Regions from separate parts of the Homo sapiens genome. Here region 1 is linked to region 2. The links are contacts of gene promoters, found by promoter capture Hi-C in human tissues and cell types (Jung and others, 2019). All regions are on one chromosome and are shown on one strand. The core of a region is centred on a gene start or on the middle of the fragment in contact, and the rest is flanking DNA. Distances in the headings are between cores, read along the strand shown.

Region 1 (5,292 bases), core at 2,503-5,002, 100 kb before region 2:
AAACCCAGCCAAATGAATCTGCAGTGTGAGACATGAGAATGGTACTGGAGTTCCCTTTGGGGGCAAGTTAGAGACTGGGAGGGGCCTAAGTGGGGCTCTGGGGATGTGGACGATGCCATATGTTTTGCTTGGATGCTGGTTGGGTGGCATGTTAGCCTGCTCAGGCTGCGATAACAAAGTACCCCAGACTGGGTGGCTTAAACAACAGGTGTTTATTTTTCTCATCGTCTGGAAGGCTCAAAATCCAGGCTCAAGGTATTGGCAGGGTCCGTTTCATTCCAAGGCCTCTCTCACTGGCTTGCAGATGGCCGTCTCCTTGCTCCATCTTCCCATGGCCTTGCCTCTGTGTGTGTCTGTGTCCTCATCTCTTCTTATAAAGACACCAGTCATACTGGACTAGGCCCCACCTCATGAGCTCATTTTAAATGGATTAATTACCTCGTTAAAGACACTATCTCTGAATACAGTCACATTCTGAGATACGGGGGGTTAGGACTTCAACATATAAATTTGGGGTGCTGGTTGGGGACACAGATTAGTCCCTAACCCCTGGGAAGTTTCACTTTGTACAAATCCCTACAGCCCTCTGCCTATGGTATGGGCCCTTTATGTATGTCTGTCCTGCTTCAATAAAGATGGTGTGAGGGGCACATGGTTTTAAGGAATTCTGAACAAAACATAGAGGTTGCTCTGACCATCAAGTATGGTGTTTCCTCCAAAGGCTGTAGAAATATGCCTGGCATAAATCACAGAAGGCTATGAACAGCCAGAGAAATGGAGCATCCACCAGGACTCTGCATCAAACTCCAGGGAAGAGCTCCCTGGAGGTGGAGGCGCTGGCCAGGCTGGTCTGCCCCATCCCCAGCAGACCACCCTCTGGCCAGGCCTCCCACAGGGAGCTCTCCAGCCCCCAGATGCCTGCTTTTCTGATGGTGCAAACCAAGCTTCAAGCATGGGAGGCCCTGGCTCCTTGGCCGTGAGCACTCTCTCCCCGACTCAGCCTGGCCCTGCTGTCCTGTCCCTCAAGCCTGCCATCACCCCACCCTGGTGGGGCCGTTTTTCTTTCTCCTGCTGAGTAAAGTGTGAAACAGGTGAAAAGGCTGCAGACAGACAGGAGGCCAGCCAGCCAGCCCCAGGCAGTGCCCCAGCCACCTTGTGGCTGACTCCCATTCCCATACCAGTGACACTCAGAGGGCACTGGGTAGAGCCAGGGTACCTGAGAGGGATGGCAGGAGGGATCAGGAGAGGCCCACTGGGGTCAGTGCTGTGTGACATGGCTCGGCCTCTCTGGGCTGCAGCCTCCTCCTGCTCTGACGTTCCTCAAACCCCCAAGAGGGTTTCAGGAAGAGTCACACTGAGGTTGTGAATGGTGACAGAAAGACCAACAGCCCCTTCAATGGGTACCACCCTTCACAGGTTGCAAGTTGCTCTCCTTGTCCCTCAGGGAGCAGGTGCTAAGGCCAGCACCAAGGGGGAACCTGAGACAGAGAAGAGTCAGTCCCACGACTGGCCAATGGCAGAGCTGAGACCTGCCCTGAAGCCCCGGTGCAGATTCCAGATCTGGCCTGGGATGTTCCGAGGGCCCTGGGTGCCCCTGGTGGGGAGGGAGAATTCCAGTGCAATGACTGGCATTTCCAGAGAAATGGTGACACTTCTGTCAGCCAGCACCAGGATTCCCTCAGGAAAACCGGGATCCCTTGGGAACATTGCCAATTCCCTAGAATTCCTGCAGGATTTGTACAGTATCTTCAGAGACATTGACATTCTTATGGACAATGATAGCTCTGAGGAAACACTGAAGCGTCATTAGAATTCCTTCAGAAACAAGTAAAAGGTCTTTTGGAAATAGGGACATTTCATAAAGAAAGGCTGGCATTCCTCAGGAATTTGGGCTGTCCTCTCAGGAATGTGTGCATTCTCATGGGAATTTTGAGATTTCTCTGAGGAACGATGAGACCCTCACAGGAGGGCAGCGGGCTCCCCCAGACAGTGATTCTCTCCAAGAACACGGAGAGACTCCCCAGGGAGCTGCCTTGGAGTCCGGAGCTGGCTTCCCCGGGCTTAGGACAGCTTGAGCAATCAGCGGAAAGGGGTGGGCTCTTCCCCATGCATTGTGGATATTCACTCAGAACAGAGACCCGCCCCCCAAGAGACATACAGACAAGTGCACACACGTACACACACACAAAGCCACATACAGTTACATGCACAGATGCAGTCCACACAGACACACACAGGCACCTGCACAAAAGCACACACAGACACAGACACACACCAGAACATACATGGACTCGCAGTGGCTTCAGGAAGTCACACTCCTCCCAAAGTTGCCAGCCCAGATGACTTATGGCCTCATTCCCCTCAGGGTTCCAGGGCAGGGCCCTGGATGCCCTCCCCACCTCCGTCCTGGTGTCAGCCAGAGTGACTGGTGCTCCAGGAGCCCTGCTCAGGCCTCTCAAGCCTCTGCCCACCCCTGGCCCCGGCCCCCACTTGGCCTGCCTACCTGCAACTTAAGCTTCCCTCTGCTCCTGGATCTTACTCCGGAGGCAGATGCAGGAGTCCCACCGGTCTTGGGTGGCCGGAACCACATCCTAGGTAAGGACCCTGCCCTCCCTGCTCTCAGAGCCCTGGGGAATGCGCAGGTGATGAGGAGGAAAGAGTTGGAGCCCTGGGTCCCAGTCCTGGCTTTGTCACTGACCTGCCAGGGAACCCAAGGGCCTCAATTTCCAGATCTGCAAAATGGGCACCCTCGGTCTTTTGTATATTATGTCTGTCAAACAGCCGATGCCCGACCTGAGGGAGAACCAAAGCCCACTCAGCCAGGGACCCAAACCATGTCAGCTCATGGATGTTTTGTGTTTATTTTGCTCGTCTGTGGTCCTTTTTAAGACAATGCCGTTAATTTTGGGGACAAAATTTCTTGCTCTGATAATCAAAAATAATTATTCCAGCTAGGCACAGTGACTCACGCCTGTAATCCCAGCGCTCTGGGAGGCTGAGGCAGACAGATCACCTGAGGTCAGGAGTTCGAGACCGGCCTGGACAACATGGTGAAACTCTGTGTCTACTAAAAACATAGATTGGACGGGTGTGGTGGTGGGCGACTGTAGTCCTAGATACTCCGGAGGCTGAGGCAGGAGAATTGCTTGAATCTGGGAGGTGGAGATTGCAGTGAACTGAGATTGTTCCACTGCACTCCAGCCCAGAAAACAGTGTGAGACTCCATCTCCAAAATAATAATAATAATAATTTCATCAGCGGCAGAAAATTGTAATCTGTCTAACATGACTAAGAAAAGCTCCTACCTGGGGGCAGGGACATAAGGACTCAAAGAGATGGTGCAGGAGTGCTGTGTACAGGGCCTGGCGCTTAGAAAATGTTGTCGTCATCACTCTATGGGCTCCCCCATTAGCCCCGAAGAGAACAGGGTCCCTGCTTTGCACAACTGCTTTGTGTGCACAGGTCCCAGGTGAGAAGGGAGCACCCTCACTTCCAGAAACGAGTTCATGCCCATACTCTGCAGGGGGGAAGCCGCGTGAGGAGCCATTCACGGGGGTGATGGGTAAGTTGAGTGTTTGCAAACAATAGTTGTTGTCGTTCCATTTCTCTGTCCAATTTCTGAGAAGAGAGAATTTCCGCCTACTTTGTCTGTAGGGTTCTAGAGCAGACATGGAAAGAATGCCATTGGCTGTAAAACACGCCACTCTTTTCTATGTACTAGCAAGAAAAAAAACACACTGTTACCTAAACACGTTGATGGTAAGATGCATTCTGATTTCCAAGAGAGTAAAATGAGAAAAAGATATGTCTTCAAGCCAATGAAACATGGTGTAAAAACCATGACGGGGTCATCAAGGTAATTGATACGACCTCCCAGCCCTTAAGGGGCAAGGAGTGTCCTCCTTCCCACTGTAGTCTTTCTTTTTTTCTTTATTCCATGTTTTTGTTTGTTTGTTTGTTTGTTTGTTTGAGAGACAGAGTCTTGCTCTGTCACCCAGGCTGGAGTGCAGTGTTGCCATCTCGGCTCACGGCAACCTCCGCCTCCTGGGTTCAAGCCATTCTCCTGCCTCAGCTTCCCAAGTAGCTGGGACTACAGATGTGTGCCACCACACCCAGCTAATTTTTGCATTTTTAGTAGAAACGAGGTTTCACCATATGTTGGCCAGCCTGGTCTCGAACTCCTAACCTCAGGTGATCTGCCCACCTCGGCCTCCCAAAGTGCTGGGATTAGAGGCGTGAGCCACCCTGCCCAGCCTATTCCACGTGTTTTAAATGGAGGTTTCAGTTGTATACAGTAAAAGATGCAGTAAGAAAGACAGGTTTTTGCTTATGTGTGCACCCTTGCAACCACCACCCAGATCAAGGGACAGGACTTTCCCAATACCCAGAAAGAGCCCCTTTTTGCCCCACTGCAGTCAGTACCTGCCCCCAGAGGTGACCCCTCTTCTGACCTCTATCTCTGTGGGCAAGTACTGTCTGCTCCTGAAATTCACAGAAAGAGCCATACAGTGTGAGCGATTCTGTAGCTGGCTTCTTTTGTTCAATGTCATGTCTGTGAGATCCCCCTATGTTGTTGCCTGTGTCAGCTTTCTAGCAAATTTATCTGTTTTTCTACATCACACTAAACCCGGTTCAGAATGGGTACAAAAGGGCATAGAGAGGGAAATAATAGACACTGAGGACTCCAAAAGGGGGGAATGGGGAAGGGGAGTGAGGGGGGAAAATTACCTATTGGGTACAATGTTCACTATTAGGGTGATGGGTACATTGGAAGCCTAAACTGCACCATTGCACCATTTGTCTCGAACTCTTGTCCTCAGGTGATCCACCTGCCTCGGCATCCCAAAGTGCTGGGATTACAGGCGTGAGCCACCACACCTGGTCCATTGCACCATTTGTTATGTGCAATATATCCATATAATAAACTGCACAGATAACTCCTACATCTATTTTTAATGAAAAATTAGAAAAAAAATGGAAAAATCTGGTTCAGGAACCCAGGCTTCTCCTCTCTCTTGCCCTCCCTGCTGGGGTGCACTCTGGCAGCAAACAATTCCCCCTGGCCTGTGCGTTGGCTGTGCCCAAGGCTCCCCACTCCGTCTGCAGGGTGGCCTGAGGGGATCCTGCTGGAGCCTCCATCCCTCAGCAACCTGAGGCCTGGACCCTTTCTTTCTAGCATGTGTCACCGCCCTGCATGAGGGCCACACATTCAGAGCTTCATCAGCATCCTTCAAGCGAGAGCTCAGATTTTCCCGTTCCATGTCTGCCCTCCTTATGCCCCACATGGGCAAG
Region 2 (4,754 bases), core at 1,890-4,389:
ACAGGTGGTTGCCAGCAGATGAAGGCAGGGTGTGGCTGTAAAGGGACCCATGAGAGTGCCTTTGGGGGGATGGAACTGTTCTTTACCCTGATTATGATGGTGGCTGACTATACATGTGGTAAGACTCAAAGGACCATACCACTAAAAGAAGTCAATTTTACTGTAAGTTTTTTTGTTTTTATAGTCTTGGCTTTTGACTTGTTAAACTCAGGGCATAGGAGAGTCTGAGAACAGCATACACACAATGAAGTTGAAGCAAATCTTCCTGCCCACAAAACTAGAAAATGCCCTATGTTGGGTTGGTGAAGTGTGAGGGTCCAGGAGAACTGGAAGGAGCATAGTTCTGGTGGGTTCTGATGGTGCCTCCGTCCCTTGCTGCTCCCAGGCAGACCTGAGCATGGGATGAAGGGAACAGAATCCCAGGCACATGTATGGGATCCAGGGACAGAGGGCGTCTGTGTCCACACTCCCTCCCAGAGCCAGAAGAGGGCATGAGACCCCAGGGAGAGAAGGGTAAAGGGAGGGTCTAGGTGGATCCAGGCAGGAGGGCTTGGGCAGCCCCTCACAGTCCTGTATCAGGCCCAAGGAACTGGCGAACAGCAGAACAATTCTGTGTCTTACAAACGAGTTGAAAGTAAATGCTAAATCCAAAGGGACCTTTCACCAGGAGGGAAGTACAGTGTCTCTGCAATCTAGGGGCAGATGGCACATGGCTGTCTCCTATATTGCCAGCCAAAAATAGGGACAGGCAGCCTCCTTGGTACAAACAAAGCCCCTAGCACAGACATGAAACCCCAGGGGGAAATTGGGACATTTCTGTTCCTGAGCAAAATGGCATTTGAAATGGTAAAGTATAGATAAATCAGAAAGATGTGTGGACGCCTGAGTTTATGAACTGTGATTCATACCAGCTCCCCAGACATCATCTCCCCATAGCCCTGTGAGGCAGATTTTATGCTCCCCATTTTACAGGTGAGGAAACTGAATGAAGTTCAGGGAACTGGACTGACTTGCCCAGGGTCGTAGGATTTGAACCAGGGCTGTTTGAGCCCAAATTCACCCACTTTCTGCTGCAATACAGACACAGCCTCCCGGCCTCAAACCAGAGGGTGTAAGCTTTCATTAACTGGCTGCACAAACTCTACTAATTCCTTGCCTTATCTGCCTCAGTTTCCCCACAAGGATAGTAGCAACCTGACCCAACCCACAAGAGTTATACGATGGGACCACTGTGAGGATGATTGCCATGTACAAGATGTGGGCAGAGTCCAGCAAGTACCTTGAATGGATAATTAAGTTCAAAGCCATGGCCCCAAACCCTTGGGGGCACCACCCAGACTCTGGAGAGCAGTGGAGCAGGCCAGTGAAGGCCTAGTGTGAGGGAGGCAGTGTGGCCCACTGATTAGCAGGGACTCAGACAGACACAGAGGGTGGCAGGGTCAATTGACTCCAACACTCACTCGCTGTGTGTCCCCAGGAAGCAGTCACCCTTTCTGATCCTCAGCCTCCTCATCCAATGTATGAGAGACAACAATACCAACCACTCCTGAAGAAGATGAGGTTCAAATATGGAGAGCACCTGGCATGCAGTCAGTGCTTAATAAAAGCACATTTATTCCTTCTCTCTCCACTTTTGCTTATAAGGTGTTAGGTTTTGCAGGGTAAGAGCTGCGCTCACTGGTCCAGGACCTTGGCCTTCCTGTGTCTTCACTTTTTCATCTGCTGAACAGACTCCAAGGGCCCCAGTGGTGGGGATAAATAAATGCCTGATTACTCCATTTAGGGAAAGGTAGAAGAAAGGGTAGGATAGAGACCAGGATGCCAAAGGATCCCTCAGGCCTGGGAACCTGGAAAGACTTTTCCAGGACCTAAAAGAGAAGCGGCGGGGCACTGTGGCTCACGCCTGTAATCCCAGCACTTTGGGAGGCTGAGATAGGTGGATCACCTGAGGTCAGGAGTTCGAGGACAGCCTGGCCAACATGGTGAAACCCCATCTCTACTAAAAATACAAAAACTTTGCCAGGCATGGTGGCGCTCGCCTGTAGTCCCAGCTGCTCAGGAGGCTGAGGCAGGAGAATCACTTGAACCCGGGAGGTGGAGGTTGTCATGAGCTGAGATCACACCACTGCACTCTAGCCTGGGCGACAGAGTAAGACTGTCTCAAAAAATAAAATAAAATAAAAATTAAGTGAAAATTTAAAAAATAAAAAGGGACGCATGAAAGTGTAAAGTTCACAGGTGGGGAAATCAAAATGGCCAGCAAGTGTTGGGAGGCACCTTCATCTCTCAGTGCAGTGATTCGGGGAAAGGACCTGAATGTGGATGTCTCACCCCAGGCAAGCACTGCATCTCTGGACAACTTGCCTCACACTCAGCCTCAGTTTCCCCCTTATAGAATAGGAGTACAGGGTTGTGAGGATTTTGTGAGATGCTGCCTGTGAACACCATGGCAGGCCAGGCATACAGCAGGAGCTCGGCCAGTGTCTGCTGTTGGCGTTGTTTTTGTTGTTTTCATTCTCCAGTCAGTTGCATTCTAACTCTGCTGCATCCTCTCTGGGTCTTTCAGCACTTGTCCCCACTGGATCTCAGTTTCCTCCTCTATAAAAGAGGAGGAGTCACCTCTCCCTCTCAGGGTTCTTGTGAGGACAGAGAGCTCCTGACGTGCAATAGGGGCTCTGAAAACAGGAGACCCTTGCCCTGGAATGGAGACGCACCCCAGATGTAGGATGCAGTGTGACTCTTTTGACATTTTAGGAGAAAGAATCCTCCAACTGGAGCAAAAAAATTAGAGCAGGAGAGGAAAGGGGCCAAGAGATGAGACTGAGGTCCCTTCCTGGGCTCTGTCTGGCTGCTCCTTTCAATGCTCCAAGCTACCTTGGGAGCGTGGGTCCCCAACCTTGGCTCCGCTCAGGAAACCATAAAGTCTTGAGTAACATCCCATCTCAGGTTTTTCTCTGTTTATCTTGTTGACCAAATAGCTTAACTGTCTCACCTGCTAATGTGATTGGCAATTATTTACTTTGGAGAGCCCTGAAAGACACTGTCAGATTGCAGAATTCTCAATTATCTAGAAACCCATCACCCAACACATGCTTCCTCGTCCCCATACTATAAAAGAGGCTGACTCCTCGGCAGAAGTGAGTGGGGGAGAGAGAGGAGACCAGGACAGCTGCTGAGACCTCTAAGAAGTCCAGGTAAGAGCCATCCATTCTGTGGCCCCTCTGCTACCCTTAACGGCAGGGATCTCAGGCTCCTGCCCTGTGGGGCAGTGAGTGATCTTGATCACTCACTGGGGGCTGTGCAAGAGAAACAGACCTGGCCAATGTCAGGGATGTGGGGATGGCCATTTGCTCTGCTGTCCTAAGAGACCAGTAACATTGATATAGAAATGGGCACTATTAATGCCGTAAATGAAAGCCTCTAAGGCATAAGTTTTAGCTTGAGGTTACCAATGTGGATACAGATGATCCAAAAACCTCCTAAAATTCTTCACCCAATTTTATACATTTTGATGCATTTTTTCTGAGACTAGGATCTTTAGCTTCCATTGGATTCATAAAGGGTCTGTTGCCCAAAAGAGATTCAGAGGCTGTGGTCAAAGTTACCTCCCTAAGAAGGGCACAACTGGCTCTTTGGACCAAAGACCTTTCATTTCCAGCCTTCCACCACAAGGATGGAGCTTTAGCTGAGTCAGCCAATAGATGGAATTTTGCACAAAGTCACCAGTTGTCTCCAAATTGTAGGTACTAGTGCTGGCTCTGGACAACTCTGCTGGCTGCCAAATAGACCTGTGAGAGGTCTGCAAGCCAAACCTCAGGGGTTGACCGGAATTCCATCCAGGGCAGCTTGAAGGAGAAGAGAAAGGTGTCAAAATGATAGAATGCATGTTTGTGTGTTGGGTGAGGGGAGGGTTGGGAGACCTGCCTTCAACCACAGCTCTGCCATCAATTTATTGTATGACCTTGGGAAAGTCACTACCCCTCTTTGGTCTCCTGGTTCTTCTCATGCAATGAAGACTTTGATGGCCCCAGGAATTCCCCAACAAAGGTCTACATGAGATGGTGGCTGTGGCCATGCGACCCCTGTATTGTGTGACTTTCAAGGGCATCCACCAACCATCATGGCCTGAGCTCAGGCCAAAGGACTGAACAGGGATGATCTAAAACAGTTCAATTCTTCAGCACTTGCACGTTTAACCCTTCTCATTTGCTTTGTCTGAAGAGCAGCAATGATTCAAACCATTGAAGCAAGCCCGATTGGAGAATAAATCTGATGGTTACTTAATTTAACCGAGGGTTCACCTGGCTCTAGCTTCTAATCCTCTGTCCACCGTGTACTTGTGACCTTGGGGAAAGTTACCCACACTCGGTAGTACACAAGTGGGTTTCAAGAAGGGATGGGAGTATATTTGAAACTCCCAACTGCAAACTCACTTGACCTCTGTGAGCCTTGGTTTCTCCTACTGGAAAATCAGACAAGTGAACTGTGGGCAAGATGGAGTGAGGTGAGGCTGGGATTCTTGGCAAGAAGGAAAAAAACCCTCTTCTTTGGAATGTGGTGGAGTGGGGCTGTCTCCTTTTTAGGCCCCTGATCAGTGGTCCTCACCTGTGCAATGCAGGTAACAGGTGCCCATGTCTTAGGGTTGTGATGAAGATGAAATTGTGTAAAGTGGTCAGCCTGTTGCCTGGCAAAGAGAAATTGTTCAGCAGTATTAGCTATTACTAGTGACCCCCTGGTGTTCTGGGGAGCAAACA

What was found. Contacts are between HindIII fragments. The study calls those that stand out against the background at their distance.
Region 1: a fragment that was not itself captured here is called in contact with the fragment with the promoter of BPIFA1 in region 2 in 3 of the 25 tissues and cell types used here (dorsolateral prefrontal cortex, mesendoderm cells and spleen).

The regions. Positions count from the first base shown.
Region 1 is chr20:33,131,017-33,136,308 of GRCh38, forward strand. No RefSeq gene overlaps it. Among named protein-coding and RNA genes, the nearest start is that of BPIFA2, 34 kb to the right of the region's middle. The HindIII fragment of the contact is 6,794 bases long and covers 356-5,292 here.
Region 2 is chr20:33,232,857-33,237,610 of GRCh38, forward strand. BPIFA1 (BPI fold containing family A member 1) reads left to right here and starts at 3,140. Exons shown (of 9, transcript NM_130852.3): 1 at 3,140-3,194. The HindIII fragment of the contact is 6,820 bases long and covers 1-4,754 here.